Regions from separate parts of the Homo sapiens genome. Here regions 1, 2, 3, 4 and 6 are each linked to region 5. The links are contacts of gene promoters, found by promoter capture Hi-C in blood cells and fetal thymus (Javierre and others, 2016). All regions are on one chromosome and are shown on one strand. The core of a region is centred on a gene start or on the middle of the fragment in contact, and the rest is flanking DNA. Distances in the headings are between cores, read along the strand shown.

Region 1 (3,954 bases), core at 1,368-3,867, 180 kb after region 5:
TCATTTACCAAGTGAATGTTGGGGAGAAGTAGAGTGGTAGGCAGCCTCCAAAATGGCCCCTAGTGATCCCCAGGTCTTGGTATTTATGTCCTTGTGTAAATCCTTCTCCTCCAATGTCAGCTGGACTTAGCGACTTGCTTCTAACACATGGAATGGGGCAGAAATGATGGAACGCTACTGCCAAGATGGACTTATAAAAAGACAGTGCTGGCCGGGCATGGTGGCTCACGCCTATAATCCCAGCACTTTGGGAGGCTGAAGTGGGCAGACTATGAGGTCAAGAGATCAAGACTGTCCTGGCCAACATGGTGAAACCCCGTCTCCACTAAAAATACAAAAATTAGCTGGGCATGGTGGCATGCGCCTGTAGTCCCAGCTACTTGGGAGGTTGAGGAAAGACAGTACCTTCCATCTTGGGTACTCATTTTCTACTGGCTCACTCGTCCTTGGGGAATCCAGCCAGCATGCTGTAAGGTAGCCCTGTGGAGAGACCCACACAGTAAGTGAGTGAGATCTGCCAAAAACTGAATGAGTGAGCTTGAAGATGAATCTGTCCGACCCCAGTCAAGCCTTCAGATGAAACTGCAGCCCTGGCTGACAGCTTGACTGCAACCTCATGAGTGACCTTGAGCCAGAGGCACTCAGCAAAGCTGTGTCTGGATTCCTAACTGGCAGCAATTGTGGCATGGTAAACGTTTGTTGTGTTCAGCTGCTAAGCTTTGGGATGATTGGTTACACTGCAATAGATAACGAATGCAAGGAGCAGCTGGGACCCATCTCCTCCTTTAGGTGTCACCTGAGGTGCTCGGATGGACTAAGCCTTGGCCAATCTGCAGGTTTTCACCAGCCCCTCTGGTGGTTCCTGGGTGTGCACTGAATGTGTATGTTTTGCTTGATGTCTGAGGGTGGCAGAAAGGAAAGTGAGTTTGGACCAACCACCAGGGTGTAGAAAACTGGCCTGGCCATTGAAGCCCCTGTCTCCCTACTCCATTCTGAACTTGGATGAGGAGACAGATCATTCAGGCTTGTGGGAGCCACAGCCACCCAATAAGTTTTACCTCATGCTCTTGCCATCCAGGTACCCTGATTCCCTCACCAAAAAATAAATCTTGACCGAAAACTCTAAATTATACACAGCACTTCCATGTACATTCTCCTTTGAATTCTTATAATTGCCCTAGGATGCAGGTAGATGAGGAAACTGGGTCTCCAATGCTGGTGTAACTCTCTGTATTGTTTACAAGTTCTTTTACGTTCAAGGTCTCTTCCAAGGCATACTTATGTTTGAGCTCAGAGGAGTTGAAAGAACTGCTGGAGCCAGGACCTAAACTCAGACAAAAGAAAGAGAGCCCCAGCATAGCACCCTGCTGCCCCTGCCTGGCTTCTAAGCCTCTGTGTACCTCTGAGCCTCACCCTGCCTCTTGGGTACCACAGAAGAAACACTTCTCAGGAGAGACCATCTGGAGAAGGAGAGCTGAGGAGTTAGGCTCCCCTCAGAGGGGGTTCTTTAAAAATTCTGAAATGATGTCATTGAAAAATATGCACACACACAAAAACAAAACCCCCTCTGAAAACCACATTTTGTTTCTAGTTATAAATTGAGGATAATAACATTGTGTTTGATTTTCAGGGTTTTTATGAAGATTAATTTTTATGAAGAGTAATTACTTGGTTAATTAATTCAGCAACTCAACAAATATATAACAGAATGTTTTCCATGTCCCAAGTATTATTCCAGATACTCAGAATGGTGGAGCACAAGATCCAGAAAATTTCTCCCCACATGGGCTTGTATTCAAGTGAAAAGATGTACTTCCTCTGCAGGAGCTAAACCTTTCTATGGTTATAATTAGTGTGCAGAGGTGGGCTACTTTTTTCACTGAATTTATGTCATATGCACTGTTGCATAGGTTTTAGTCACTCCAGTATTAAATAATTTAATTGCAACAGTTTACTTAATCTTGCCTAATTGATGGGCATTTTGATGTTTTCAGTTTTGACCATTATGAAGAGTTTCTGTAAACCATTCTGTATAATTAACTTTCAACAATTCTTTTGAATTATTTCCACAAAATAAATTCATAGGAGGGGATTTGGGCTAAAGGATGTGAATTTTTTTTTTTACTCTTTTTAGATAATACCAGATCACACTCCAGAAATTATCAAATCAAATAACTATCAACAAGGTTTTTTTTTTATACCCAGCATTCCTAGCATTGGTTTCTTGATCATTTAATTCCTTTTTGCTAGTTTCATAGGTACTTGAATTTTATGAAGTTGAACATTTTCTTTCATGTCATATAAACAAATCTAGTTACATTGGATTAAGATGTGGTAATGACATCTCAAAAGTTGTAGTGATGGCCAGGCATGGTGGCTCACGCCTGTGATCCCAGCACTTTGGGAGGCTGAGGCAGGAGGATCACCTGAGGTCAGGAGTTTGAGATCAGCCTGGCCAACATAGTGAAACCTCATTTCTACTAAAAATACAAAAATTAGCCAGGTGTGGTGGTACATGCCTGTAGTCCCAGCTCCTCGGGAGGCTGAGGCAGGAGAATTGCTTGAACCGGGGAGGTGGAGGTTGCAGTGAGCGGAGATCGTGCCAATGCACTCCAACCTGGGCAACAGAGCAAGACTCTGTCTAAAAAAAAAGAAAAAAAAATTGTAGTGACTTAAAATGACAAAAGTTCATTTCTTTCTCATGCTAGATTCCCACTGTGAGTTGAGCTGTTCCTGTCCTCATTCTAGGGGCCAGACGGTGGGGCAGCCACCGTCTGAAACGCTGCTGGTCACTGAGGCAGTAGACAAGGGAGAGTAGCAAATTACGTATAGGTTATTAAACAGTCTGGCTGGAAGTTACACATGTTACTCCTGCCATTTCATTGGCCAAAGCAAGTTACATGGCCATATCCTACTTCAAGTGCAAGGGACCTTTGATTCTATCATGGGACCAAGAGAAGATACAGAAAAACCAGGAAGGTAGAACTAATGACCATCACATCATGGTTTAGTATTTGTGAATTTTCTTTTATAAATTGACTATTTATCCTTTTATTGCCTTTTGGTATGCAGTGATCCAGAGAGAAGAGTATAACGTTCTTTATTTGATGCTTTTCTCTGGGAATGTTATGTTCTCACATCATCACCCAGTGGAACTCTGATATGGCCTTTCCTCTTCTTCCTGTTCTTTTACCAACCCAAGATCAGCATTAACTGGGGGTGTTTCTTACTTTGTCTTCCCTTTTCCTTTTTGCTAAGTCAGAATGACAACCTTGAGAAGCATCCAGTCATCTTTTCCCCATTCTTAGTGCCTGGGCATTGCTCTTTCAGGTTTTCCTGCAGTTTTCAGACTAATTGGCATGAAGCCTGAGGAGTCACTTTGAGCCAAAATGTCAATGGACCTAACTAAGTGGTGATTACAGGATAGTGAGTTACTTGTTCCCTTTCAAAGGCAAGCCAGTTTGGCTTCACTTCTGGTTAACTGGTGCTTCCTTTGATGTCACTCGCGTAAAAGAGAGTGTCATTAAAAACAATCAAAGCGGCCAGGCGTGGTGGCTCCCACCTGTGATCTCAGCACTTTGGGAGGCCGAGGCAGGCGGATCACGAAGTAAAGAGATTGAGACCATCCTGGCTAACACGGTGAAACCCTGTCTCTACTGAAAATATAAAAAATTAGCTGGGCTTTTTGGCGGGCGCCTGTAGTCCCAGCTACTCAGGAGTCTGAGGCAGGAGAATCGCTTGAACTTGGGAGGTGGAGGTTGCAGTGAGCTGAGATTGTGCCACTGCACTCCAGCCTGGGTGACAGAGCGAGACTCCGTCTCAAAAACAAAACAAAACAAAACATAAACAAAAAGAACAATCAAAGCATATTTGTGCTCCATTTAAAAAGCCATTTGGTGCATTTTTCATTATCTGACCGAGAGTATGTATTTGCTTTAGATAAATGCAGATCTA
Region 2 (3,893 bases), core at 504-3,003, 130 kb after region 5:
GCACATGGGACCTGAAACCTGGATGCCCCGGTTCTGCTAGTGACCAGTTGAAGGTCCTGGGGAAATCTCACCCTTCAGAGTCTTAGTTTTCGCCTCTGTAAAATCAAGGTCATAACCATTTCTGCCCCATCTAATCGAGTAAGGTCTTTAGTGAGACCCAAATAAAATAAAACTACGTCTATGAAACAGTAAAGAAGTATAGGGAACTGTTTTTCATCCATGTGCACAAGCAATGTAAAATCTATGTTGTTTTAATTCGATTAACTTCAAGAAAGAGCCCCAGCTAAATTAATCAATCAATACATATATTAATATATTCAGTAAATATTTGTTGAGCACCTACTCAAGGCCCTGGAGGGCCTTGTTGAACCCTCCAGGCCCTGTTCTGTGCCTGGAGGGATACACAGCTGAACAAAACACAAAAAGCTCTGCTCTTAGAAAGCTTAGATTGGAGGAGACCGGTGATAAAATAAATAGGAAAAATCTTTTTTTTTTTTTTCCTGTTTAGGCAGTGGTAAGTGATATAGAGAAAAAGAAAGCAGGAAAGGGGGATGGGGAAATGCGGGGTGAGAGTGCTTTAGAATAGGGTGATGAGGAGGCCTCATGGAGAAGATACTCTTTGAGCAGAGACCTGACAGGGAGATGGGGGGGTGAGCTCCATGGATTTCTAGGGGAAGAACATTCTAGAAGTGGGCAGCCAGCAAGTGCAGTGGGTCTGAGGGGAGACGGTGGCCTTTCCTGTTGGAGGAACAGGAAGGCCGGCACTGTCCTTGGAGGGGTATGAGTGCCAGGGTCAGAGGCTGATGGGGGGGCAGGTCCGGATAGAGTTTGTAGGGCCTTGAAGGTGACCTGAAGGGCCGACTTTTGCAGTGAGTGTTCCTGACAGCTGGGGGGGGGCACGACTGAAGCTCTGCCTTGGGTCTTACCTGGCCGTAAGGCAACTCCATTTTTAGCTTGGATCCTGGCAGGCAACCAACAAGCATTTATTGCAGGGCTGGCTGTGTGTTCTCGGCTGCGCTGGGAGCTCTGTGAATATCCGGAGATATAACAGGGATCCTTAGCTTTGGGGAGGCCACAGACTTGCTGTGAATAGAATTTAGCTGCAAAAGGCAGTTAGTGACCAATGCAAGACTATTCGTGTCACTCGCTGCATTGTGTGGAGGGCCTAGAAGCATGAGGGAGGCTGGGGTTTTGGGAACCCCAGGGGCAACCGGGACTATGCTGGGATCATGGTAGGTGCTTTACTTGTTTGCGAACAGACTGAGTGATTCTGAGTTGCATACTCAGGGAGCTCTTTGTGGCTAATTAAGTCCTTTTCCTACCCAGGCCCAGGTGGCCAGCAGCCCCTGGCAGCCGCGCACATGCTGCTCAGTGTTGCCAGCGCACAGCAGGGGCTGCTGCAGATGGTCCTCCAGCCACAGGGTGATAAAAGGCCTCCTGAAGAAGTAAATGACCCTGCTGGTTGCTGTGTGGAATGTTTCCCCCAGGGAAATTAAAAAATGGAATCCAGTGTCCAGGCCTCAGTCTCATGTCTTTAATAGGCTAGTCAAGATCCTGGGGCCAGGGCCTGGGGGCAGCTTCTTCCTGCTGGAGAGGCCAGTTTCCTTTCCCAGTCTCTGACCCTTCTCGGTTTTGGAATCCTGCTTGAGACCTCTCAACTCTCACCAGGCGAGGAGGGTGATCTGGGGTAGAGAAATGACATGAAGTCATTTCAGAAAATCCCACAATGCCTCATCACCCAGAATCCTTTGCGGAGCTGGCTGGCCGGCCCTGGGCTCCCTTTCAGCTGCTCTAGAATGTAGCAATGGTGGGCTCCTTTGGGGGCCATCTAGAAGCACCCTGCCCCTGGGCACCTGCCTCCTCACTGGAGGAGACCAGAGGCCACGTCCCAGCCCTGTGCTTCCAGCTCTGGAACTGCCCTTGACTTCACTGGACAGGCCTGAGCAAGTCGTGTAACCTTCAGGGACTCAGCTATGCCCACTCCAGGCTCTGTGAAACCAAGACAACCTCACGTGCTCAGTTCCTCAGCTCTGCAGGAGCCAGGCTGCTCTGGGGTAAGGAAAGGGAGAGAGAGGGATATTGTCCTATGCTTCCTTCACATAGCTGAACGTTTTATTTATTTAACTTTTTGGATAAGTAATGCATTTTATGGTTAAAAAAATCAACAAGTATAAGACATTACACAGTGAAAAGTGTCCTTTCCCATCTGCTCAATTCTTTTCTTTCTTTCTTTTTTTTTTTTTGAGACGGAGGCTCAGTCTGTCACTCAGGTTGGAGTGCAGTGGCATAATCCTGGCTCACTGCAACTTCTGCCTCCCAGGTTCCAGCAATTCTCTTGCCTCAGCCTCCCAAGTAGCTGGGATTACAGGCACCTGCCACCATGCCCGCCTAATTTTTGTCTTTTTGGTAGAGACGGGGTTTCACCATACTGGCCAGGCTGGTCTTGAACTCCTGACCTCAGGTAATCCACCCACCTCAGCCTCCCAAAGTGCTGGGATTTCAGGCATGAGCCACTGTGCCCGGCCCCCATCTGCCCAATTCTTATCCCCCACCCTAAAGGCATAGCCACTGTTATTAATTTGTTGTTTATCCTTCTAGAGTTTTGTGGGATTTTTGCACATACAAGCACATGGAATATGTTCTTCCCCCACTCCCAACTCTTTTTCTACTTGATTGCTAATACACAGTACAGTGTTCCTTACCTCACTGTTTTCAGTTGACAGTGCATCTTAGAGATCTTTTCATCATAGTACATAAACCATTTCCTCATTTTTCTTTACTAGTGCTTCTTGCTGTCTAAAATATGCCCAAACAATCCCCTAGAAATGGACATTTAAGTTGTCTGCAGTATTTTGCTTTCAAACAATGCTGCTGTGGACAACTGCAATTCTTCGTTCAGCACACAATTATGTTTATGCATAAGGTAAATTCCTAGAAGTGAAACTGCTGAGTCAAAGGGTAAATGCATCTCTAATGTGGACAGATGTTGCCAAATTAGCCTTTACAGGGGGTATGCCAATTTATGCTCTCAGCAGCAATGTATCAGAGAGAGTGCCTATGTTTCAAAGCTTACCAACAGACTTGGCTTTTAAACTTTTGGATTTTTGCCATTCGATAAATTTGAAAAAACCAGTATGGTTTTAATTTGTATGTTTCTCATTGTGAGCTCTCCATATCCATGCCCACTTTTCTATTGGTTTGTTTGCCTTTTGACTCATCAATTTGCAGAAGCTTATTATATACTAGGGAAATTAATCCTTTGTGATGTGAGTTACACATCTTCCTCATTTTGTCATTTGTTACTGATTTTGCTTAGGGTGTTTTTTTTTTCTTTTTCAATTGCTTTTTGCCATGCAAAAGCTTTTGGTTTTCATGCAGTTGAAATTATTCACCATTTATTTCGTGGCTTCTAGATTTTGAGTTGTAGTTAGCAAGGCCTTCCTCATGCTCCCATTTTTGTTTTAGTATTATGTTTTTTCTTTTTACATTTAAATCTTTGACCCAGTCAGAATTTATTCTACTATAAATGTGAAGCCCATATTCAAAATCCAAAAGTGGTGGTTATCAACACCATTTATTGAATAATCTGTCTTTTCCCCATGTAGTTGAGTGCCATCTTAATCCTAAACAAAATCATTGCATGATTTGGATGTTTTCCAGGGTTTCAATTCTGTGCTATATGTCCGTCTAATAAGTAATATGCCACTACTATGTTTTAATTGTTGAAGATTTTAAATATATTTTAATATATAGTATAACTTCCTCATTTATTTTATCAGAAATAGCTGGTCTATTCTTATTTTTCCATGTAAAATTTAGAATCACTTTGTATAGATAAAAACTTCTTTTACTGGGATAACAGTTATATGTTAACATTTATAAGTTAAGGGAAA
Region 3 (4,038 bases), core at 970-3,469, 150 kb after region 5:
AGCCTAGAGTCTACTATCAGCCCAGGATGCTTATGGAATGGGAGAGGGAAATAGCCATTGATATTTCATGTCTTTGGAGAGAAAAATGAGTCTGCACTTAGATGATATTTGCAGAAATGGCAGTAGTTGAGATCAACCAGGAATAGAGAGTAGAGGGCGAAAAGAACAGTGCCTAGCATGGAGCCTCAAGAGCTCCACCATATAATATTTACGGCATGGAGGAAGAACCCATAAAGAGACCGAGGAGTGAAGCTAGAGAAATAGGAAGAGAAAACGGTGTGAAGGAGCCAAGGGGAGAAAGTATTTGTGAAATAAGGGAGTGGTCAGCCTGTTTCTGTGACACTGAGAGGTCCAGTAAGATGAGGCCCCACATGTAGCCATTCTGTTTAAAACGGAGATGATTGGAGACCTTATTAAGAATTGTTTCCTTAAAGTGGTGTAGTGAAAGTCTGTGGGAATGGGGTCTGGGGTCAGTGGCAGATGAGGGAGACACAAGGAGTGTGGCCACAAAGGCAAGAGTAAGAGAGGCCAGGTGCAATGTCTCATGCCTGTAATGCCAGCACATTGGGAGGCCTAGGTGGTTGGATCACTTGAGCCTAGGAATTCAAGACTAGCCTGGGCAACATGGTGAGACCCCGTCTATATCAAAGATACAAAAAACAAAAATCAGCCAGGCATGGTGGCATGCACCTGTAATCTCAGATACTTGGGAACTTGAGGCATGAGGATCATCTGAGCCCAGGAGGTTGAAGCTGCAGTAAGCTGTGATCGCACCACTGTACTCCCACCTGGGCAATAGCGCAAGACCCTGCCAAAAAAAAAAAAAAAAAGACAGTAAGAGAGGATAGGAGCTGGAGGAAGAGGAGGGTCTTCTGGTCTCTCCTTCCCTCCTCTCCCCTCTCCCTTTTCTTTTTCTTTTCTTTTTCCCTTTCCTTTTTCAAAGATTGCAGCCATGGTAATTTTTATTTATTTATTTATTTATTTATTTAAGACAGTCTTGCTCTGTTGCCCAGGCTGGAGTGCAATGGCATGATCTCGGCTCACTGAAACCTCTGCCTCCCGGGTTCAAGTGATTCTCCTGCCTCAGCCTCCCGAGTAGCTGGGATTACAGGTGTGCACCGCCATGACAGGCTAATTTTTCTATTTTCAGTAGAGATGGGATTTTGCCATATTGGCCAGGCTGGTCTCGAACTCCTGACCTCAGGTGATCTGCCCACTTCAATCTTCGAAAGTGCTGGGATTACAGGTATGAGCCACTGTGCCCACCTGCAGCTAGGGGATTTAAATGCTGATGGAGGAGATGGAAGGAACAAGCTAGAGAGGATAGCTGGTAGCACCAGGCCCTCGAGAAAGCAACAGGCACAGGGCACAGAGGGCATCTGTGAAGGAGCTGGCCCTCTCAGCAGGAGGAGGGAGAGGTGGGTGCAAACTCAGGGACATCTGTTTGTAGATTTGGTGAGACAGTTTGTTCTCTTTTCTCAGTACAGTAGATGACAAGGTCATTTGCTGAATGTGAAGGAAGGAAGGAGTGGTTTCAGACGTGGTGAGATTGGAGAAGGTTTGAAGTATAAATTGTGCAAAGAAGAGCCTGTATTGACCGAAGGAGCCCTTTGTGGTTCCAATTACCAGGCAGTCCTGAGGGCATAGCCAAGATGGGTGGCTGTGCAGTTCTGGGATGTCCCTCCAGCAGTGATCTGCTGGCCAATAGCAGGTGTAGAGAAAGTGGATGATGACATCCACCCAAGGCTTGAATTTTGCTAGATAGGTGAGACGTAAGGACAGAGAGGAAGGGAATGTCTAGTACAGACAGTCTCTGACTTGTTCCACTTATGATTTTTTTGACTTTGCAATGGTGCAAAAGTGATATACATTCAGTAGAAACTGTACTTCCAGCCCCCATACAGCTATTCTGTTTTTCACTTTCAGTACAGTATTCAATAACATACAAGATACCCATCACTTTATTATAAAATAGGCTTTGTGTGAGATGATGTTGTTCAACTGTAGGCTAATGTGTTTTGAGTGCATTGAAGGTAGGCTCAGCTAACCTAGCATGTTTAGCTGGTTAGGTGTATTAAATGCATTTCTGACTTACGATATCATCAACTTAGGATGAGCTTATCAGGATGTAACCCCACCATAAGTCTAAGAGCATCTGTATTTGGAGGAGAGTAATTACAAGATTGGACTATTGAATGTTAGCAGGATAAAATGGAAGGTGAAGCGAGTAAAAGTAATAGATAAGGAATATCTGGGGGGGTGGTCACTGGACTGAAGGCCTCAGTGGGGATGAGAGAGAGGTTAGGACAGGATGCTGTGGTCAGAGAGTGGGGAACTTGGGTTTGAGATTTAGGAGTGAAGGAGCTCTGAGTCTTGGCCAGATCCCAGCAGTGAGCATGGGAATGGGTGCTGAGGTGGAAGAAGAGAGGTGGTCACTGATCATGGGGCGAACAAGGGGCCGAGGGGCCAGGACCTTGGCTGGGCCTTACACAGGGATGCTGAGGCAGCAACATGAATGGGGGTGGAGAAAGTTGTGAACTGTTTGCTAAATATTGGTTGGATGAGGAAAGGTGCTAAGAGAAGTCCAGAAATGTCCTAGACAAGGGCAGTGAAAATCCAAGATTGACCTTAGATCTAGTTGAGCAGCTAATTTGCAGGACTGTAATTTCCAGACCACACAGAGAAAAAGTCTGGAAGTGACTCTATGGAGCCAGGAAGACAGGAGCCCAACTTCTGGTTCCAAAAGTTTCCATTTGAGAGGGCTGCAACAGACGCAGTATCTCTTGGTCAGCCTGGGGCAGCTGGGTCTCCTCAGCATCTCCTGGTGAGCTTTTAAAATGCAGATTCCAGGGCCTTACCCAGGCTAATTAAATCTGAAGGTTTAGGGCAAGTACCTGGGCACAGGGCTGCTCCATGGCCTTGGACCTGGACAGTGGAACTCAGATGGGCCCTGTGCTTGTTTTAATGCTCTGCTGCTGCCATCTTGAAAATCCTTAATGTTTGTTGAATAAGAAAGCCTGCATATTTGTCTTGTGCTTGGCTTCAGAAATTAGGTAGCCAGCCCTTTCTGGGCAGAAGTATCTTTTTAAACATTTCCTCAGGGGATTCTGATGTGAAGCCAGGGCTGGGAATCACTAAGTTAAGCCAAGAGTCGGAGGGAACATTCGATGAGATGGCTGAGATGCAAAGGTAGAGAGTTTGCGATCATGGAGCAAGAATTTGGAGAGCAGCATCGGAGGCAGGAGGGAGAGGGGGATGGCAGATTGAGTCAGGAGGAAGATGGGAGAGGGTATGATGGGAGAGGATGGATGGGTATGGAATTCCCACTCTAGGTTTCCACTTGGTTCCTTGGAGAAGGATAAGTGCTTTGGCATAAGAGAAGTCTGCTTCAGCCTGAAAGGAAGACCCAGTGGTGGGTGGGGTGTGGAGCTGGAGATCCTTTGCCTTGAGGTCTTCTGGGGAGTGCATGTGTACAAAGGTGGGCTGGGGCGACGGATAGGAGAGCAGGGCCTTTGCAGGGCTGGGCATGAGTGTGAGCAGCCTGGTCACATGGCTTTGGGCTGGTTGTGCTGCATATAGGAGTTGTGTGTTTGGGAGGGTCTCCAGGTCTCCTTGGAGCTGAGTGACTCATGATGTTTTGGCTGGAGGACAAGAACTGGGAGCTGCCGTTACATAGATGGGGCATAGAGCAATGTCAGTCTCAAGTGTGGATAACTTGGAATGTTCAGGGAACCTTATCAGGGATGTGGCATGTCCATGGGAATCCTATTTTTCCCTGGGAGTCCAAGAGGAAGTGAGCGGTGCAAAGGAAGCCAGGACAGGGCTCTGAGAAGAGAAGACTCCCCAGAGAAGTGAGCCGTAAACACAGGCACCACAGGGTCACGCGTTCATGAAATGTTGGTTGTTTTTCTAAACTATGAGAGATAAGAGGCAGTGAAATCTTCCCTCTGCTTAAGCCCTTTAGTGTAAATATTTCTTTCAAAATCAACCCAGATGGGACTGGGCCTGGAGAAGCAACCAGGTGCACAGTCATGTTGC
Region 4 (3,536 bases), core at 457-2,956, 240 kb after region 5:
TGCTGGAGAGAGGGGCTAAGGGAACTCCAGGTCCATGGCCATGGTGGTCTGGACTTCTTTAAGCCCCAGAGAGAATGGACTTCTGGTGGAGCTGCCAAGGTGAGAACCTAGTTTCTCAAGGACAGGTCACAGGTCACCTGGCAGCTACCCCCCTGCCTCCTGGAATCGGTGATCCAATCCCAGCTGCTGCCTGACCAGCTCTCTCTCCTAACCCTGCTCCCCACGCCAGACATTTTGCTTACCCCAACCTAGTGAGTGATCATCCTGCATGACCCCTGTTCCCCTTACTGCCATCCTGAACTCTGCCTTAGGCTAAAATTTGGATTCAGATCAGCTGTCTGTGCTCAGGCTCCCCGGCCTTCTGGTATGGAGTCCCCCAAGCAGAGATCCATGGCTTCCTCTGACCCTAGGGGTCTGTCTGTCTTCCAGTTCTGGTGTTTTCCAGCCCCCTCATTCCCCCTTCTGCCTAAGCTTTGCTCATGACATTTTTCACAATTGTCTCATCCAAGGTTTCCACAAGGAACCAGATCTGGTCCCCACAAGTGTGTGGTGAGCTTTAAACAAACACTCACAGTGCCATGATGGCCACCAACTTTAGCTCCCAGGGAATGGGTTGAAAACTCAGAGCAGAAGAAAATGTGGTTTCCGGCATCAGTCTTATAAGTGCATAAGTATCCTGGTGAGTGGTAAAAAGAACCCCAGCTGTTTATTTTACTTCTCCCTCAACTCAAGTTGAAGACTTCTTGCCTATAAACTATGAAGATGCAAATTACTGTGGCCATTTTGTGGGCTTTTCTATTATAGCAACCACTCATTTTTATGGTGGTTCAACATTATGCAATTTTGAAATTTTAGGTGAAAAACTTGATGAACTCTCAGCATTCCTGTTTACACCAGTGGAATTTTACCAAGCTTGGGAAGGGCAATTGATCCGGACACTTGTGGAAACTACAGAGAACCAGCCTTGGGCACACCTTGGTGTCCACTGTGGCATGCTCTTGCGGTCAGCAGCTAGAGGCTGCAGGAAGCTTGTGGAGAGAAATTTCCCTAGGGTCCTGGCCTGGGGAGCATACTTTAGCTTCTCACAACTCAAAGTGTGGTCCAACGACCAGCAGCATCACCTTCATCTGGGAACTTGCTAGACATGCAGAGTCTCAGGCCCCACCCAGACCTACCGAACCAGTCAGGAGATTAACAAGATCCTGAGGTGACTCAGGTCCCATATTTCCTGTTCAAGAAGCAGCAGTGTTTTCAGCCCCTTCTTTCTCTTTCCCTGAGTGTTACTATTCTCCCTCAAGGAAATACTTGATCCAATAGCCCCGTTTACCTAAAAGCCAAGAAGACAATGATGACTGGGTGTCACCTGGTTCTCAGGTTGCCTGTCAGGAGGGCAGTGATCCTGTAATGAGGGTGGGTGGGGGCAGGGCAGGCCTTCGTAGATATTGTGCCCGCAAGAGATGTGTCCTTCTGCAGAGGTCAGTGTCATCAGGGGTGAACAGACAGGAGGGTGTCTGCCTTCCCCTGCTAGCCCTCCACATCCGTGAGAACTTTAGCATAAGTACTCTGCCCCCCACTGCCCTCATCTCGTGCACCTACACGGCAGAAGATTTTGGGCTGAGGTTTCCTAACCCATCAAATCACAGATTTTTTTTTGAGACAGGGTATTATTCTGTTGCCCAGGCTGGTGTGCAGTGGCATGATCACAGCTCACTACAGCCTCAACCTCCCGGGCTCAAGCCATCCTCCCGCCTCAGTCTCCCAAGTAGCTGGGATTACAGGTGCTCACCACCACTTCTGGCTAATGTCTTTTGTATTTTTAGTAGAGACGGAGTTTTGCTCCATTGCCCAGGCTGGTCTCAAACTCCTGGGCTCAAGTGTTCCTCCCGCCTTGGCCTCCCAAAGTGTTAGGATTATAGGTGTGAATCACTGCGCCTGGCCAAATCTTAGCTTTCTCAGTTCCTTTATCCTTTGCTCATGTAGGTGGGCATTACCAAAACCCTACATTATCTGACAATTGTTTACAATAAAATGGATTGTTCATGAAGTATGCTTCCCTATCCATTCAGATGGTTTCACATTTGGTTATTTCACTGCCCAGTAGCTCCTCTTCCAGGAGGGAGATGAGGGAGACGAAAGGAAAGGAGGGATTTTTTTTGACTTATTTGACTTTGACTTATTTAGGCGGTTCCATGAACTCAGCAAAATAGTCCTCCCCACCCCCAAATTGTTCTCATTTAGTCTGCATAATCATAAATAACATATCCAACACAAAGTTTTGGGAATTTGTCAGGTTTTCTCCATGTTTGTTTCACCAGTGATAAAATAAGGAAGGCAGTCACCTGTAATGCAGTGGTTCTTACCTGAATGAAGACAGGGCTCACTTGGGAAGCTTTTTAAAAATACCAATGCCCAGGCCTGCTTCCAGCCCTATTAGGTGGGAGTCTTTGGAGGTAAGGGCAGGCAATGGTATTGTTATCAAAGCTCTGCAGGTGATTGTAATGGAGAACTCTTAAAATCATTAGAAAGTTGAGAACCTCTGGTCTAGTAAACTAGTCAAGAGCATTAGTTCCCAAACTTTCACACACATCAGAATCTTTCCAGAGGCATATGGGGCTCAAGAAGTTATTTGTTTATTTTGAGACAGAATCTGGCTCTGTCACCCAGGCTGGAGTGCAGTGGCGCAATCACAGCTCACTGCAGCCTCGACCTCCTGGGCTCAAGCAATTCTCCCAACCTCAGCCTCCCTAGTAGTGGGAACTACAGGCGTGTGCCACCATGTCTGGTTAATTTTTGTATTTTTTTGTAGCGATGGGGTCTCGCTATGTTGCCCAGGCTGGTCTCCAGCTCCTGGGCTCAAGTGATCCGGCCATCTCGGCCTCCCAAAGTGCTGGGATTAAGAAGTTGCACCTTTAACAAGTTCCCAGGTGCTGCTGATGCTGCTGGTCTTTATTCTGGGACCAACTTTGAGAATCATTGGTCAAGAGATCTAAGATGAAATTCTAACTCTGCTGCTAAGTTGTCATATGATTTGAATAATCAGTATCTCCTCTTTGATATTCTACAACCGGAATAGGCAAACATTTTCAGTAAAAGGCCATATAATAAATACTTTTAGCTTTGCAGGTCATACGGCCTCTGTTGCAACTTCTTAACTCTGCCATTGTGGTATGAAAGCAGTCATAAACAACGCCTAAACAAACAGCATGACTGAGTTCCCATGAAACTTCATCGAGGTGGCAGGATCTGCTGACCTCTGTTCTACAGTCTCATGAGTGATGTCTCTAAGTGAGGATTTCTTTGTACTTATCTAATTTGGTGCTTTTTGGACTTTCTGAATCTGAGGGTTGATATCTTTCATCGATTCGGTAAGATTCACGGTTATCATCTTCTTAAATACTGCCTTTTCTACATCGTTTCTATTACCAATTCATGAAACTCAGACCTGGTAACATGTTAGACTGTCTCACTTTATCCTCCGTGCCTCTTAGCTGCTTATATATTTTCTACCTATGTCTCTCTGTGCCACATTCATGTCT
Region 5 (3,540 bases), core at 974-3,473:
TGGTCTCAAACTCCTGACCTTAGGTGATCCACCCGCCTCAGCCTCCCAAAGTATTGGGATTACGGGCGTGGGCCACTGCACCCAGCCTGTAACTCACTTCTGAAGGTCCAGAAATTCCTTGTTTCCTTCTGTTATTTATAGTACGCTACTTATTTAAACCAAACATGAAGTTAATTGACACTTAGCCAGGCAATTTGGATTACCTGTGTGGCTTCACACAGGTATGGGTTGTAGACAAGTCTAAAAATAGAAAATGTTAAAATCCAGCTATCTCAGAAAAACTTGGGTTCATCTCCATCTCCTACCTCCCATATGTCACAAATAGACGCATGGGATGTGAAATGGTAACCTCTGGGTAAGGTGACAAAGGTACTCTAATCTTGGCTTACGTGGACTACACGGTTAATCCACTGAATAACAATCAGCATCTTCATCTGTGTGGTAGGAGAACCGGAGGTCAGAAGGGTAGAGGGGCGGCTAAAAGTACTTTGTTTCTATTACTGTATGACCTTGGACTAGTTACAAAACTTTTTGTGCCTACATTTCCTAATCCCTAATATGGGGTTAACAGTGCTTGCCTCTGTTTAAAAAAATTACTCAGTGATGCTTACTAAAGCATGGTAAGAAAGACTTTATTCAGGACCAACGCGATGGGTACAGGGATCAGGGAAACCCGGGGAGAGAGAGTGGGCTCCAATTCTGAATGCAGCGTCGGCAAGTAGAAATTTATGGCCATGTAAAATCACTAAGAGTAACCATCGGGGGAAGAGGGATTCTGGCTCAACCGATCTAAAGGATTCTTGTAGAACTCAGGCCAGGGTGAAAAGACATGACTGGGGGATAGAGGAAGATGAGGAACCTGATCTGCTATGAGGGGATGGGGGTTCTGTGCTAGAACTGGATTTTACAAGGAAGTGCACAGATGGGCCTAGCATGAGATTCAGAAGCCTGACTAAAGTTTGGCCAAGCAAAGAATCTTTGTCACCTCAGGGCTGTTGTGAGAATTTTAGGAGACACATCCACCAGCCTTGGCATGGGGCCTGATGCAGAGTAAGTGTTCACTAAACTTTACCTATTAACGTTAAAGCACTTTAAGTTGACAAACACTCCACGTACAGAGCTTTTAATGGGGCAAACAAGGGGCAGAGGCCTCAGCTGCAGGGTACTCAACCTCTAAGGAAGGGCGCTGGAGAAAACTGCACTTGCAGAGCCCCTGGCTGGAGGGCGGAGAACCATGTGGGTGTAAAGGGATGGCAAGGGCAGAACGTATGCCCCTGCCCACCTTAGACAGTTGCTAAAGGGTCTCCCAGGCACTCAGCCTAGCCTTTAAGTGAAAGCGGAGGAAACATTTAAAGAAATGAGATAGAGTTAAGGTGTTCGCCTGCCCTCCGCTGAAACACGTGGGGGCAGGTCAGGGGCACACCACAAATGCCCGTATCGCGCCTGTGTGTACCAGGCACCGTCCTCGGAGGTTAACGTGCAGTAACTCACTCGGGTCCCCACTTTCGGCACAGGCAGCAGGCCCAAGGTCACGCAGTGCCAAGGGACTGAGTCAGACCCGAGCCCGCGCGCCGCGGCCCACGGCCTGTGCCAGCGCGCTCCTCGCCGGGTAGGGGGCCTGGTCAGCCGCGTCAGACCTGAGAGTTGTGGCTGGGGGCGAGAGCTGCACCCCCCTACCGACCCCGGGCGGGAATGTTCCAGAACCCCTGCGAGCAGCCGTTGGCCGCACAGCCCCCGGGCCGGCCGCGACCCCGCCTTGCGCCGCGAAGGTCCCTAGCTCCGGGGAGTCGCGGGCGAGGGGCACGCGCACGGACGAGACCGCACCGCAGCGCACGCGCACTGGCGGGCACTCACTCGCCCGCCGCCCGGGAGGAGAAGGAAGGCATGGAAAGTTCCAGCCGGTTCGAGAGCTAGGTAGCAGGCATGGCAGGAGGCGGGGTAGGGGCAGGCAGGGTCGCGAGGGGGCGTGCGGCCGCCGCGAGCCGCTCTGGGCCGCGTCTGCAGCACCGCCCCTAGCCGCGGCCGGCGGGCTGGGCTGGGGTCGGGGCGGGGGCGGTGCGGCGGGTGCGGGGCTGCGGAGGGGGCGTGGCGGCCGCCCGCGGGCGGAGAGGGGGCGGGGCGGCGGCAAGGCGCGCGGGCGGGGCGGGGCGCGCCGAGGGGGCGTGGCGCGGCGTCTGCGCAGCTGCCAGCGCCTTTAAGCCCGGGCTCGCGCTCTCGGACCGTGCTTTCGCCGCCTGGGAGCCGTCCGGCGCAGCAGTTTCTAGGTCCCCACTGTCCCCGCCGTCCCGCCCCTTCGCGTCCCGGGAACCGGCTGGCTTCCGAGCCGCACTCGCCGATCCTCCAGGCATGCCCCGCTACGAGCTGGCTTTAATCCTGAAAGCCATGCAGCGGGTAAGTGACCTTCCCTCAGAGCCGGTCTTCCCGCGCGGGCGCCCCCGCTGCCGCTAGGCCGCCGTCCCCCGCGCGCCCTGGCCGCGGGACCCCGGGCCTTCCTGCACTCCTCGGAGGAGGCCGGGGCGGCGGGCGGGCGGCGGGCGTCCGCGGGAAGGGGGCGCGCGTGGGCCGGCCGGGCCCGGCCGCGTGCGCGCGGGAGGCGGGGGTGTGCCTGCGCGTGTGCGCGGTCCGGGAGGGTGTGCCTCGCAAGCGGCCCGCCGGGCGGGGGGCGGGGCGGACCGAGCGGGCCCCGACCCCGATCCCGGCGCCGGCCCGCGGGAGTCCAGTGGAAGGTCCGCGGGAGGACACGCGCGGGCGCCCAGCCCGACTCCGGCCCGTCCCCGCCAGTCGTGAAGCTGCCTCGTCGCCGGCCCCGCCGCCGCCGCCTGGTCCGTCCCGCTCCGCCGCCCGCCGGCTGCCGCCGACCGCCTCCGCTCTAGCGCCCGCCGGCCGCCCGGAACGTCCGCGCCCAATAAAGCGTTCCTCCAAAGCTTGTTTGTGCCGTTGTCTGTATTCCAGTCTCTTGCAATCGCTCTCATGTTAAAAAAAAATCTTTTGACTTTTCTTTTTCTGACTTCAGCGAAAATCCCGCTCCGGGTGCCCTTAGCCCAGTTTCATTCATCCAAGTTGTGGCCTTTCTTGCGCCTCCAGAAGACACTTTCTTCCCCCTGCTTTTGATTGATCTTGAGGTAGGGGATTTCAGGTTTGGAGGGATGCTAAGCGAACCAGCGGCCCCTTTCAGGTGACGGCGTGGCCAAGGACAGGGGCCCGCGGCCCGGAGGCAGCTCACTTCGTCCTCTGTCCTGGGTCATGTACTCCTCAAGTCGTCGCCGAAATCCCCATTCTCCCGTGAATTCGGAATTCGGTAACGTAGTTTGGTGTTATGTTTTTTTTTCTCCACCAGGTGTAATAAAACAAAAATCATTGTACCACGTCCGAACTTTGTAAGCACAGCTTCCTACAGCGCTAGAGGAGTGGACGCATTTTTACGTTTGAAATTAGGCTCCAGGTCAATTGCGAGGAGTATTACCAAGTTTGGTTGAACTTAAGCTCAATTGATAAACTAACAATCACGGAGCGTCGGGAGATTGTTAGGAAGTGTGCTTT
Region 6 (3,686 bases), core at 183-2,682, 150 kb before region 5:
TGCCTCCTGGTTTCAAGCTATTCTCCTATCTCAGCCTCTAGAGTAGCTGGGATTACAGGTGCATGCCACCACACCCAGCTAGTTTTTGTATTTTTAGTAGAGATGGGGTTTCGCCATATTGGCCAGGCTGGTCTTGAACTCCTGACCTCAGGTGATCTGCCCACCTTGGCCTCCCAAAGTGCTGGGATTACAGGCATGAGCTACCATGCCCGGCCTAAAAATGGTAGTTTGGACCTACTCTGTTTCTGACTTGGCTGGTTCACCTCTCCTTAGGCAACCTTGTGGTCCCCTGCTCCTGGGAGGTCACCATATTGATGCTTAATTTAGTGTGGACACCTGACCGGCATGGTGCACTACAGCTGAGAGCTCCTGGACTAAAGCAATCCTTCTACCTCAGCCTCCCAAGTAGTTGGGACTACAGGTGCACACCACCATGCCCAGTCATTTTTTTTTTTCATATTTAGGAAAATTTCCGAATAGATTTCCAGAATTTACACAACTTGGTGAGAGAATATGAGTACTCTAAGAGCCTCTGATGCATGAGGCCAAGCTGCTTTTCAAAATTTTAACCAATTTATACTTTCCGTAGCAGCACATGAAAACCCTTGTTTCACTCTACTCTGCAAACTTTCAGAGACTATTTTCAAATAAGCCTAATGAAAAGTATTCAACACATTATTTAACACAATTTATTGAGCAGCTATTACATGTAGCCAGCTGTTCTATTCACTGAGGCTACAACAGGATACAAGACACAGTGCCTACCTTTATAAACTTTATATTCTATGAGAAATTAAACTGCAAAACCTGTGTTTTCTGAAGTGTGGGTGTTAACAGATGTAATACAAATAAAAAGTTCTAGGGTCAACTATACTTGGGAAACTCTAGACTCTGAATATAATTCAGATGGTTTCTGCTTTTTGTTTTTTTTTTTGCCATTTTATTTTATTTATTTGCTTATTTTTTGAGATAGGGCCTCACTCTGTTGCCCAGGCTAAAGTGCAGTGGCACAGTCATGGCTGAGTACAGCCTCAGCCTCCCAGGCTCAAGCAATCCTCCCACCTCAGCCTCCTGAGTAGCTGGGACTACATGTGCACACAGCCACACCCAGCTAATTTTGTATTTTGTAGACACAGGTTTTTGCCATGTTGCCCAAGCTGGTCTCGAACTCCTGAGCTCAAGCGATCCTCCTGCCTTGGCCTCCCAAAGTGCTGGGATTATAGGTGTGAGCCACCTTGCTTGGCACCACCAACCCCCACTTTTTTTTTTTTTGCCATTTTAAACAATTCTGAATCTTCTAAGCATCTTTTTTTATATCTAGAAAAATTTTGAAATAGATTTCCAAAACTGACACAACTTGGTGAGAGAAAATTGAAAAGCTGCATGGAAAATTAATTATAAGGAGAAAAAAGGAAAAAAAATTAATTATAAGTAAACTGTAAGGTTGCACAGCAGCAGAGAAATACCCTCTGTTTATTTTGTATTTACCCAAGGATGATCTCAAACTCCTGGCTTCCAGATCCACCCACCTCGGCCTCTCAAAGTGCTGAGATTACAGGTGTGAGCCGCCGCGCTTGGTGCCCTGCCCCCAACTTTTTGACATTTTAAACAATTCTGAATCTTCTAAACATATTAAGACACACTTTCTTTCATATCTAGAATAATTTCCAGCCACTTGCACATCTCCAAAATAGTGGTTTATGGTCATTTCAATTTTAGGATTTGTTAACTGGTTGCACATATATGGTTTCATTTTTATTTTGAGTTTTAGGATGACTCGAGATGTAGATGGGCTTGGTATTCCCCCATTTTATAGATGGTGAAAACGTTTTGGATCCTGCTTACGCAGCTTGTCTAGGAAATGGCAATTTGCATCTCAAACCCAGGCACCTGCACCAAGTCCCATCTCTTTCCATCTCTATGGTTGAAAGAATAAGTGAATCATTCAGGATGTGTTTCTGGAATGGGATTTTGAAGCTAGCCTGTATTTTAGTGGTGTGGGCAAAGGGAGAAACACAGAAGCCCTGAAGCCTGATAACACTGCATCCACACCTCCCTCCTGCCTGCTCTTGGATTTCTGGGTGCCTGTAGGCAAATCACTGTGATGTCAGGCCAGGGCGCCATGTGCAAACTCCCATGTGGAGGGAACTGGCAGAAACTTCCCAGCTGTGACACTGCCACACCCTCTGCTATGCAAGAACAGAGCATTTGGAAAGGAACAAAAAGTTGTATCCTATAAGGGAAGAGGCCGGGCGCTGTGGCTCACACCTGCAATCTAAGTACTTTGGGAGGCTGAGGTGGGCAGATGGGCTTGAACTCAGGAGTTCAAGACCAGCCTCGGCAACATGGTGAAACAATGTATCTACAAAAAAAAAAAAAAAAAAAATTAGCTGGGCGTATGGTCCCAGCTACTTGGGAGGCTGAGGTGGGAGAATCACTTGAACCCTGAGGGGCAGAGGTTGCAGTAAGCCAAGATCGCACCACTGTGCTCCAGCCTGGGTGACAGAGTGAGACCCTGTCTCAAAAAAAAAAAAAAAAAAACAAAAAAAGAAAAAGAAGTGAAGAGACTTAGCACTCTGCAGTTATCGCGCTTTCTCTCTGCACAAACTCAAATCATTTAAAAATGAGTTATTTTAATATTTTAGTAGTTGAGGCCAATGGAGTCAAAGGTACTTGCCCAAGGCCACAGGGCAAAACTCGGACATCTAATCTCGATGTTTTTGTTTACACTGACCTTCAATTCAAAATAAATATTGCTCGCTGTTTTATTTTCTCTACAAAGAAACCATATGCAGTGGTAGAAATGAGCAGTGTGGTGGCATCAGACCCTCACTGTACATGCTCTTAAAAAAGTGACTCAAAGGCTTAAAAAGTGACTTAAAGCCTCACACCTGTAATCCCAGCACTTTGGGAGGCCGAGGCGGGCGGATCACCTGAGGTCAGGAGTTTGAGACCAGCCTCGTCAGCAGGGTGAAACCCCATCTCTACTAAAAATACAAAAATTAGCCAGGTATGGTGGTGAATGCCTGTAATCCCAGTTACTCAGGAGGCTGAGACAGGAGAATCATTTGAACCCGCGGGGCGGAGGTTGCAGTGAGCCTAGATTGTGCCACTGCACTCCCGCCTGGGCGACAGAGTGAGACTCCACCTCAAAAAAAAAAAGTGACTTAAAATAAATTTTTGTTTGTGTGACAGGGTCTCACTTTGTCACTCAGGCTGGAGTGCAGGGGTGAAATAATGGTTCACTACAGCCTAAACCTCCCAGGCTCAAGCAATCCTCCCACCGCAGCCTCCCTAGTTGCTGGGACTATAGGGATGCACCACCATGCCGCCAGCTAATTCTGTTATCTTTTTGTAGAGATGAGGGTCTTACTATGTTGCCCAGGCTGGTTTTGAACTCCTGGGCTTAAGCGATATTCCCCCCTCCACCTCCTAAAGTGCTGGGATTACAGGCTTGTGCCACCACACCCGGCTAAAAGTGACTTTTCCTTTAACCCAGAAAGAACGCTTCCAATCTATACTAGTCAGAAATCTGGACCAGTGTTAATGTGGAAAATGCTCACCACACTCAGCTTTAAAACGGCAAAAAACTAGAAACACATGTCTGAACATAAGAAAATGGCTTTTTAAATGGCATATTATGTAGCCACTAAAATGAGATTTTTCAGGGTTGGATGCAGGACTAT

What was found. The method cuts DNA at HindIII sites, captures the fragments that hold promoters and counts their contacts. A CHiCAGO score of 5 or more calls a contact.
Region 1: a fragment that was not itself captured here is called in contact with the fragment with the promoter of MRPS6 in region 5 in 1 of 17 cell types (neutrophils); the score reaches 7.8 in neutrophils.
Region 2: a fragment that was not itself captured here is called in contact with the fragment with the promoter of MRPS6 in region 5 in 2 of 17 cell types (non-activated CD4 T cells and neutrophils); the score reaches 5.6 in non-activated CD4 T cells.
Region 3: a fragment that was not itself captured here is called in contact with the fragment with the promoter of MRPS6 in region 5 in 1 of 17 cell types (neutrophils); the score reaches 5.2 in neutrophils.
Region 4: a contact is called between a fragment that was not itself captured here and the fragment with the promoter of MRPS6 in region 5, in 1 of 17 cell types (neutrophils). The highest score is 5.1, in neutrophils.
Region 6: a fragment that was not itself captured here is called in contact with the fragment with the promoter of MRPS6 in region 5 in 6 of 17 cell types (non-activated CD4 T cells, activated CD4 T cells, monocytes and 3 more); the score reaches 7.4 in non-activated CD4 T cells.

Annotation. Positions count from the first base shown.
Region 1 is chr21:34,247,267-34,251,220 of GRCh38, forward strand. No RefSeq gene overlaps it. Among named protein-coding and RNA genes, the nearest start is that of LINC00310, 69 kb to the left of the region's middle. The HindIII fragment of the contact is 3,804 bases long and covers 716-3,954 here.
Region 2 is chr21:34,203,271-34,207,163 of GRCh38, forward strand. No RefSeq gene overlaps it. Among named protein-coding and RNA genes, the nearest start is that of LINC00310, 25 kb to the left of the region's middle. RefSeq lists an enhancer at 387-1,385. The HindIII fragment of the contact is 2,626 bases long and covers 441-3,066 here.
Region 3 is chr21:34,223,916-34,227,953 of GRCh38, forward strand. No RefSeq gene overlaps it. Among named protein-coding and RNA genes, the nearest start is that of LINC00310, 45 kb to the left of the region's middle. The HindIII fragment of the contact is 4,907 bases long and covers 1-4,038 here.
Region 4 is chr21:34,307,126-34,310,661 of GRCh38, forward strand. No RefSeq gene overlaps it. Among named protein-coding and RNA genes, the nearest start is that of KCNE2, 55 kb to the right of the region's middle. The HindIII fragment of the contact is 1,361 bases long and covers 1,027-2,387 here.
Region 5 is chr21:34,071,355-34,074,894 of GRCh38, forward strand. It overlaps MRPS6 (mitochondrial ribosomal protein S6), which reads left to right and starts at 2,224. Exons shown (of 3, transcript NM_032476.4): 1 at 2,224-2,391. The coding sequence starts at 2,347. SLC5A3 (solute carrier family 5 member 3) reads left to right here and starts at 2,224. Exons shown (of 2, transcript NM_006933.7): 1 at 2,224-2,391. RefSeq lists silencers at 1,672-2,191, 2,482-2,881 and an enhancer at 2,135-3,085. The HindIII fragment of the contact is 10,607 bases long and covers 1-2,922 here.
Region 6 is chr21:33,918,897-33,922,582 of GRCh38, forward strand. It overlaps the pseudogene RN7SL740P. Among named protein-coding and RNA genes, the nearest start is that of ATP5PO, 4.9 kb to the left of the region's middle. The HindIII fragment of the contact is 5,747 bases long and covers 1-3,686 here.